Linked DNA regions of Homo sapiens: region 1 is linked to region 2. The links are contacts of gene promoters, found by promoter capture Hi-C in blood cells and fetal thymus (Javierre and others, 2016). All regions are on one chromosome and are shown on one strand. The core of a region is centred on a gene start or on the middle of the fragment in contact, and the rest is flanking DNA. Distances in the headings are between cores, read along the strand shown.

Region 1 (4,844 bases), core at 1,964-4,463, 320 kb before region 2:
TGGAAATTCAAGGACTCCCTGATCTGTATTCATCTCCTAAGGTGACTGTGAGAAATCGCCACACACTGGGTGACTGAAAACACAACACAAATGTGATTTTCAGAGTTCTGGAGGCCAGCAGTCCGGTAGCAAGGTGACAGTAAGATCCAATTCCGCCCCCCCCCCCGACTCACGTCACAGGAAATTAAACATTTAAGCTGAAAAAATGTTCAAACCAAGCAGGGCAGTGCCCATGCACAGAAGTGAGGCCCAACGGGCGAAGCGGACTCATCCTCCCTCCTCATGCCAACAGCAGCTCAAAGCTTCTCAATGGCAAAACTTCTACCAGGTCCTGTCTAAGGCCAAGATTCCTCCTAAAACCCAAACCATCCCCGAGGGGGCCAGCTCCTCGGTCCCTTCAGCAGGAGGGTCCCTGAGTCTGGAAAGAGGAGCTCAGCTCCAAGGGGTGGTGGTGGAAGATGCACCCTTCTGTGTCTTGTGCCAGGGGTCCCCACCTGTGGGCAGCAAGCCACCCAGGTGCCAAGGCAAGAGACCGAGGGCACAAGCTGTTCCAGTATAATAAAATATATAAAATAACAAGAGTTATACTACATATAGATCATAGATATATGTAAGTACCACTAATCATCAGTTTGTAGTAATTACTCTTTATTCAACTATTATAATAATCCTCGCTCTACAATCATAACCTAGGAAAAGCCAGGCCATACAGAGATAGGAGCTGAAGGGACATGGTGAGAAGTGACCAGAAGACAAGAGCATGAGCCCTCTGTCACACCCAGACAGGGCCACCAGAGGGCTCCTTGGTCTAGCGGTAATGCCAGCGTCTGGGAAGACGCCCGTAGCCAAGCGGACCGTGTTCTAGCAGTAGCATCAGTGCCAAGGAAAAGCACCGGCTACTTAGCAGACCGGGAAAGGGAGTCTCCCTTTCCCTGGGGGAGTTTAGAGAAGACTCTACTCCACCACCTCTTGTTGAGGGCCTGACCCGCCCACAGTTATCCGGAGGCCTAACCGTCTCCCTGTGATGCTGTGCTTCAGCGGTCATGCTCCTGGTCCGCTTTCATGTTCCATCCTGTACACCTGGCTCTGCCTTCTAGATAGCAGTAGCAAAATTAGTGAAAGCACTAAAAGTCTCTGATATGCAGAAATAATGGTGTAAGCTGTCTCCTCCCTCTCTTTCTCTCCACCTTGGCTGCCAAATAGGGAAGGGCCCCCTGTCCAGTGGACACGTGACCCACGTTACCTTACCTATCATTGGAGGTGGCTCACACTCCTTACCCTGCCCGCTTGTCTTGTATCCAATAAATAACAGCACAGGCTGGCATTCGGGGCCACTACCAGTCTCCACGTCTCAGTGGTAGTGGTCCCCCAGGCCCAGCTGTCTTTTCTTTTATCTCTCTGTCTTGTGTCTTTATTTCTACGATCTCTCGTCTCCGCACAAGGGGAGAAAAACCCACAGACCCTGTAGGGCTGGTCCCTACATCCACCCTTTCCCTGAGCAACAAACGCTGGTTGCAGCACCCAAGCGTCCTTCAGGAGCTCCGAATCTCTCCCGTGTGGAAGTGGCACATAGAGGCTGCCCCCCACCCCCAGTGTGCCCAATCCGCCCATAGGAGGTGGCTAGAGCTGTAGTGCCCTTCTGTCCAGTGGGATGAAATCTGCCACCCCACAGCAGGGCAAGATGCGAGAAGCATGCTGCGTTAGTCTGTTTTCTGCTGTTATAACAGAATATCCCAGACTGGGTAATTCCTACAGGAAAAACATTTGTTTCTTGTAGTTCTGGAAGCTGAGAAGTTCAAGGACACGGTGGCAGCATCTGCTAAGGGTCTTTGCATTCTTGCTGTGCCATAACATGGTGGAGGGCACATATGCAAGAGGGCAGGAGAGAGAGAGCCGGAGAGAGCTTGCCTCTATAACAAAGAGATAAGCAACTCACTCCCACAACAGCGACATTAATCCATGCATGAGGGCAGAGCCAACATTAATTTATTCATGAGGGCAGACAAATTAAGTTTCCAACACATGAAATTTGGGGGACATTTTCAAACCATAGCATATGCCCTGAATCCAGGCAGAGAAAGTGTCCCCTCAGTGCACAAATATTGTCACAGCTGCCTGCTCTGAATGCTGCAAGGTTTTGGAGAACGTTAAAGCTACTTCTTTTTTTTTTTTTTTTTTTTTTTTTGAGATGGAGTCTCACTCTGTCACTCAGGCTGGAGTGCAGTGGCATGATCTCTGCACACTGCAACCTCTGCCTCCTGGGATCAAGCGAGACTCCTGCCTCAGCCTCCCGAGTAGCTGAGATTACAGGCATGTGCTACCACATGTGGCTAATTTTTGTATTTTTAGTAGAGATGGGGTTTCACTATGTTGGCCAGGCTGGTCTCGAACTCCTGACCTCAAGTGATCCACCCGCCTTAGCCTCCCAAAGTGCTGGGATTACAGGCATGAGCCACCGCTCCCAGCCAAAGCTACTTTTTAACTGGGTTCCTGATCTTTCTTGGCCTGTCTCTGCTCCCAGCCTTGCCTTACTGCTCCTGCCTCTGACCTCCCGCTTTGGATCTCAGGCAGGACCAAGTCTAATCTCAAAAAGCTTGGTCTGATGCCCTGGGGTTGGTCCCTTGTCTTCCCCTCACACTCAGCCCCTCCTCACTTCCTGTGCACTAAGGGACACTCCTTGTCTGACAAGCCTTGATTTAGTGTCCCTATGACCATGCCCTGACCCGGGGCTCGATTGAAGGCTCAAATAAGACAAGTGGCCTCATTCAGTTGTTCAATAAATACTTCCTGAGCACCTGCTCGGTGCTCAGCCCCATGCAAAGCAGTGGTGACAGTGGGAAGACAGTGGTGAATAAGACAGACATGGTCCCTGTCTTCAGAAAGTTGCCACTCAAGTGGAGAAGTAAAAAAGAAAAAAAATAATAGTGCTTCCGGCTCCATGATGCAGTGGGTTTGGGGCCCCGGGCAGCGAGGATGGCACCAAACTAGTGTTTTGGGGTCAGGGAGGATTTACCAGGCAAATTGAAGTCTAAGGCAACAACCTAAAGGAGAGGAGTAGTTAGCCAGGTGGTGGGCCAGGGATGCTGGGGAGTCACTGGAGGCAGGGACAGACTGCGATCTCATTCTGGAAAGATCACTCTTGCTTCAGTAAGGAGGAAAAATACAGCAGACAAACTAGAGGGTCACTGGATTGCATGGTGGGCTCACTAAGGTTCCAGGTGGTTTGGAATCAGCTTTCCAAATTCAGAAACTCAATCTCAATACCCGGAGGTGGGAGTGCCATATTTAGCAAATTAAAAAATCACCTAGCTAAATATGAATCTCAGATAACACATATTTAGTATAAATATGCCCCAAATATTGCATGAATTCAAATTTAACTGTGTTCAATATTTTATTGGCCAACTCTACCAACAGTGACCAAGTCTTCATGACTGTCTTATGTGCACCAAACTCACAGGGATCTGATGTAAATACACCAATTTATTGATTTACAATTGCAGGCAAGGTTAAAATATACATGTTATTCAGTTTCTCCTTTCTGGAAAATGAAACAGTCAGAAGACTGGTGAACATGGAATGAGGACAAAAGGACACAAGGAAGTTTGAAAGGAAATTTCATCTCAAGGCATGGTAAATTCTGGAGAATCATCCTGGCCTCCCTACAGAGAATCCTCTTTGGTGGCAGAAAGTGCAGGTCCCCCCTGGAGAGGGCAGGTCAGGGACCACCGGGTCCTCGTGTGCAGCTCCCTGTGGAAACACGTGGTTCTTCTAGCTCAACCATCATCTGCTGGTGGTTGATTTCCCACTGTACTCTCAGGAGGTGTTCTTTCAAAGCTTTGGGGCTCCTGACCCAGCCTTCCAATTACAATACAATATATTTCACATTGAGGTTACACTTTAGAATGTATTCAGTGGGCTGAATTCATGTAGCTATTTATTCTGCCTTCTTAAACCCAAGGAGAGCAATCAGGTACTCTTCTGATTAAGAAATCACAGGCTGGGCACGGTGGCTCACGCCTGTAATCTCAGCATTTTGGGAGGCCGAGGTGGGCAGATCATGATGTCAGGAGATCGAGACCATCCTGGCCAACATGGTGAAACCCCATCTCTACTAAAAATACAAAAATTAGCTGGGCGTGGTGGCGCATGCCTATAATCCCAGCTACCCGGGAGTTTGAGGCAGGAGAATCGCTTATACCAGGGAGTCGGAGGTTGCAGTGAGCCGAGATTGTGCTACTGCATTCCAGCCTGGTGACAGAGTGAGGCTCTGTCTCAAAACAAACAAACAACAAAAAGAAATGACTTTAGGCAACATAGTGAGACCCCGTCGCCACACACACACAAATACAAAATTAGTCGGGTATGGTGGTGCACGCCTGTAGTCCCAACTACTCAGGAGGCTGAGGCAGGAGGATCACTTGAGCCCAGGAGTTCGGGGCTGCAGTGAGCCATGATCACACCACTACACTCCAGCCTGGGTGACAGAGGGAGATCGTGTCTTTCAAAAAAAAAAATCACTTCAGAAACGGGGTACCCATACCCAAGGGGTCACTTGCTCTTACTAATTTCTAGCTGTAATGCAAGTGGCATGATCATAGCTCACTGCAGCCTCCAACTCCAGGGCTCAAAGGATCCTCCTGCCTCAGCCTTTTGAGTAGTTGGGACTACTGTGGCATGCACCACCATGGCCGGCTAATTTTGTATTTTTTGGTAGAAATGGGGTCTTCCCCTGTTGCCCAGGCTGGCCTCCAACTGCTGGGCTCAACTGATCCTCCCGCCTCAGCCTCCCAAAGTGCTGGGATTACAGGCGTGAGCCACTGTGCTGGGCCATGATTCTCATC
Region 2 (4,527 bases), core at 1,749-4,248:
CTTGGAGCCCAGGCCGTGCCCTCCACCCTGGCCACTCACGATGTTGGCGGCTCGCACATGCATCTCGTAATTGTCCTGTTCACCCTGAGTGGCCCGTGACACCTGCGTCTCGTCCTCAATCTGGGGGAAAACAAGAAAACCTAGAAATCAACCCAGCCAAGGCATCCCCACCCCTGGCCCGGCCCAGCCCAGCTTACGGTAACTGTCATCTACCCAGGATGTCCACACTGGCCACAACCTGTCTGTGGTGCCATCTACAGACCTAAGCGCTGTCAGCCAGACCTCTGACAAGGTTCAATTCCACCCTCTCTTGTTCTGGCCATGGGAGACAACATGCACCTTTGCTCAAGACAAATAGAGGCAACCCACGCTGCTTGCTGTACTAGGTGCAGGGATGGGGGCTTATCTTGGCCCGGTCTTTTTGGGCTGTGGGAGCCCTGTTTGGTAGGAACCGTTGTCACTTGCTTGGCATTTGGTAAACTGTTGGATGAGTGAAGGGATGATTTAAGTTTTTTTTCGCGACCATTTCCTGATCACTTCCCAGGTGCCAGGCTGTGTCATGCACTTGACCACCATTAACCCATGCCAGTTTCACAGAAGCCTGGCCTGCCACCCCTGGTGTATAGGTGGCCAAGCGAGGCTGGATGGGGCTTCCCGGCAGGCCTTGCAAAGGCTCAGTTCGGGGTGGGTGTCAGGTACCCTCAGTGGTTAAGACCCAGACTTCGTGGGTTCAAATCCTGGCTCAGCCAGTTGTGAGCTGAGTGACCTTGGGCAAGTCACTAAGTCTCCTGGGCCTGGGTTTCCTCCTGAAATGAAGAGGACAACAGTGCCCACCTCACAGAGTCCTCATGAAGATTCAGCAGAACAGGCACAGATAACCTCACAACGTGGCTTGATACATGGCAAGCACTAAGTACATGCTAGCTTCCATCCTCATCATCATCGCTTATGGAGCCTGCCAGGTCTGCAGCAGCCAGGAGGGATCCAGCCCAATCTGATGCAGCTGTAGCTGCAGTGGTCAGCAGGCTTGCAGGCCCCAGTGCTGACCGCTCCACCTGCCTGGAGGCCCCCCCCCACTTCTCCCCTCAGTCTGCTTTTCTCCTGCTCATTGGCTGTGTGCCAGGCCCCGAGGTAACTGTTTTACACAGATAAACTCACCAGTCATCACAAGGACCCCACCATGCAGGAGAAACTGAGGCACTAAAAAGTGAAATCTCCATCCAAATCCATACTGTTAGTAAGGGCTGGACGTGCCATTATTTGGTTTGCTTATCTACTGACCAGCTCCCTGTGCACTGGGTGCTTCCTGCCTAGAACACTATTCACTCGCGCTGCTCAGCCCCTGGCCTCTCCTGTCTCCACCCCTTCTCAGACTCTGCTCCCCTTGGTGGGCCACCCCACCCCCACCTTGGCGGTCTTGATGATCTCGGTGAAGTTGTCCATGATGGACTTAATGTCGTCCTTCAGCCGCTTGTTGTAGGACTGCAGCAGCGTCTCCTTGCTCTGGGGCAGGGCTCTCTGCTGGGCCATGGCCGAGCCTCAAGCAGCGCAGCGGGGAGACCTGGGACCTAGAGTGCAGCACAGACCTCTGAGTGCAGGCAGAGTCTACCCCAGCCACCCTCTATGCCCCAACCTTAGCAGAACACGCAGATTTCTGGGGATTCCCTTTCTGCCAAATAAAGTCAATCACTGAAACACAGATGAACTCATTCCATCAGCAGACACCGCAGGGGGTGCCAGGACTGGCCCCGCCTTTGCCAGAGCAAGCTCATCCTGGAACTCCTGGCCAGCCCTCCAAGCCCTGTCCAGGGCTCCAGTCCAGACTTCACGTCCAGGCCCACAGCGTGTCCCAGGGAGCCCTGCAAACTCAACACCAGCTCCCCGTCCCCAGCCCTTGGCTTAACTTCTTAGCCCGCCGCCACCTTCGCCACGCCCTCCCATCCGAAGAGTCCTTCCAATTCGACCCCTCTGCACCGCCTACATCCACGCTTTCCTTCCACTCCCACTCAGGCTGCCCCGCTCCAGACCTCATCCCTGCACTGCGGGCCCCGCTCCCTCCAGTCTCTGCGCGGCAGGGAAGAGGTCCTAAAAAGTGGTCATTCCAACCGGGCGCGGTGGCTCACGCCTGTAATCCCAGCACTTTGGGAGGCCGAGGCAGGGATCACCTGAGGTCAGGAGTTTGAGACTAGCCTGACCAACATGGTGAAACCCCAACTCTACTAAAAATACAAAAATTAGCCGGGCGTGATGGCAGGCGCCTGTAATCCCAGCTACTCGGGAGGCTGAGGCAGGAGAATCGCTTGAACCCGGGAAGCACAGGTCGCAGTGAGCCGAGATCGCGCCACTGCACTCCAGCCTGGGCGACAGGGGGAGACTACGTCTCCAAAAGAAAAAAAAAAGGGGGGTAATTCCACTCCCTCGCTTAACATCCCTCATGGTTCCCCGGTGCGCCGGGACAAGGGGCTCAAGTTCCGCGCCGCGCCTCTCGGCCTCTGCCCTCCAGCCGCACTGGACGGCCTCGGCGCTGGAGTTGCCTGGCCCTGGGGCCGGGCCTTTGCGCGCGGTGCTCAGGGAGGGCCCGGGGCCCCCTAGGTTCGGAGTCTGGCGCACGACCGAGCGGACTCCTGGACGCACTCGCATTGTTTGTGCCCATTTTTGGCGGGGTGTGGGAAATAAGTCACACGCAGGAAAGGGGATCTCCGACCCCAGCGCCTACGCACCCACCCACCCCCACTCCCGCCCACACACCCACCCCCCCTCCATCCCCACCCCCCACCACACCCTCATACCCGCCCCAGCGCCCGCACACCAGACGCCGCGTCCGCCGGGTCGGCCTAGGGCGGGGTGGTCAAGTGCCTCTGCGACCCGCACTTTCCCGCGTCTCTCCCACGGCCTGGCCCTCCCGCCGCAGTCTCTCTTCCCCGCCGCGCCGCGGTCCGAAAACCTAGTCAGCCGCCGCAGCCTCTCGGCCCCGCCTCGATTTTTAGCTTTATAGGAATGCTGTTGCTTTAAATCCGAAATCCCGTGCCGGTATCAACTCTCGCGATCTCCGAGGCCGCATACATATTACCCACAATTCCCTTTCCTTTCTCTCTCCTCCCGCCGCCCAAGATGGTGAGTGAGCTGTAGTTCCGTGGCACTATAGCCAGGTTCCGGCTGTATCCGCTGCCATCCTCCTCCAGGCGCGGCCTCGGAGGGCCTCCTGCTCCTCCTGGCGCTAGGAGAGCCCCACTCGGTGTGGCACGGAGACACCGAGGTGGATTAGAGCCCCACTTGGTGTGGCACGGAGACATTGAGATGGACTAGAGCCCCGGGCGGCCGAGAGCGGAATGCGTTGTTCCCGGTGTCGCAGGGCTGGGTGTCGCAGGCCTGGAGCACCGCAGTGCGGGGCTCGGAGCCCTAGCGTCTCTCGGGCTTGCTGGGGGCCGCTCCAGAGGCCTTGTGAGCGACGAGTTCTGAGCCCGCCCCTGTTGCTTCTAGAGCCTGTGGGGCCGCGACTCAGAGGAGTCATGAGTCCGGGGTGTCTCCTGGGTGGGCGACGCGAAGAGAGCGTGGTCTCGGGCTTAGCCTTGCTCTGGCCACTCGGGGTTCCCGGGGCTGCATGCTTGTGCGGCTGAATGTGAGATGCTCCTGTCGAGGGGTGGTGCTGGGGGGTTGCAGAAAGCTGCTCGCCAGCTTAGTTCAGGCAGGTGCTGTCAGCGTCCCTTGTTTTGGAGGAGCCAGCCTGAGCCCTACCCCCGACGAAGCGAGTGGAGGCGGCGGTTTAACTGACGTTTTCTTTCTGCCCAGCCGAAAGGAAAGAAGGCCAAGGGAAAGAAGGTGGCTCCGGCCCCAGCTGTCGTGAAGAAGCAGGAGGCTAAGAAAGTGGTGAATCCCCTGTTTGAGAAAAGGCCTAAGAATTTTGGCATTGGTAAGTAACAAACGGCAGAATGAAAACGGTCTATGTTTTTCTCAAGGGAAGGTGGTAATTGGGTTGTGTTGTATCTTGTAGGTTTTAGTGGGTGTAAAGTGGTCGCAGTCCTTAATTTGTGTCTCTTAGAGACGGGGGCAATGATACATGCTTCTTGCTTTCATTGGGAGTTGCTGAGCGAGCATTCAGCTCAATATGGTAGTGGCCTTGAATTCAGCTTAGCCATCTGGAAACAAGTACAGTAGCAGTGTCGCAGCGAGGTACTAGGACTGCAATTCTGCTGTACTTCGTGGCACCTTGGCTTCTTGTTAGATGAGGAAAAGCATCGTGCTCTTTGTTCTCAGGTGTTTGTGTGCAGATGATGTAAAAGAATATTTGCTATCTGAGAGATGGTGATGACATTTTAAACCACCAAGATCGCTGATGCACCAACACCCTTCCTAGTGGCCCCAGACATGAACTTGACATGGAATTTGAGCCTCACTCGGTGTCACCCTTTACTTCTCAGGACAGGACATCCAGCCCAAAAGAGACCTCACCCGCTTTGTGAAATGGCCCCGCTATATCAGGTTGCAGCGGCAGAGAGCCATCCTCTATAAGCGGCTGAAAGTGCCTCC

Evidence for each region. The method cuts DNA at HindIII sites, captures the fragments that hold promoters and counts their contacts. A CHiCAGO score of 5 or more calls a contact.
Region 1: a contact is called between a fragment that was not itself captured here and the fragment with the promoter of MED22 in region 2, in 1 of 17 cell types (naive CD8 T cells). The highest score is 5.4, in naive CD8 T cells.

The regions. Positions count from the first base shown.
Region 1 is chr9:133,024,682-133,029,525 of GRCh38, forward strand. It overlaps LOC105376306 (a long non-coding RNA gene), which reads right to left. Exons shown (of 2, transcript NR_135119.1): 2 at 3,471-3,750. Among named protein-coding and RNA genes, the nearest start is that of GTF3C5, 3.9 kb to the right of the region's middle. The HindIII fragment of the contact is 1,244 bases long and covers 2,592-3,835 here.
Region 2 is chr9:133,345,133-133,349,659 of GRCh38, forward strand. MED22 (mediator complex subunit 22) reads right to left here and starts at 2,999. Exons shown (of 5, transcript NM_133640.5): 1 at 2,790-2,999; 2 at 1,408-1,568; 3 at 40-120. The coding sequence starts at 1,530. It overlaps RPL7A (ribosomal protein L7a), which reads left to right and starts at 3,086. Exons shown (of 8, transcript NM_000972.3): 1 at 3,086-3,114; 2 at 3,790-3,910; 3 at 4,419-4,527. The coding sequence starts at 3,112. It overlaps SNORD24 (small nucleolar RNA, C/D box 24), which reads left to right and starts at 4,264; the gene lies at 4,264-4,338. RefSeq lists enhancers at 572-1,075, 1,076-1,577, 2,882-3,176, 3,038-3,507. The HindIII fragment of the contact is 16,795 bases long and covers 1-4,527 here.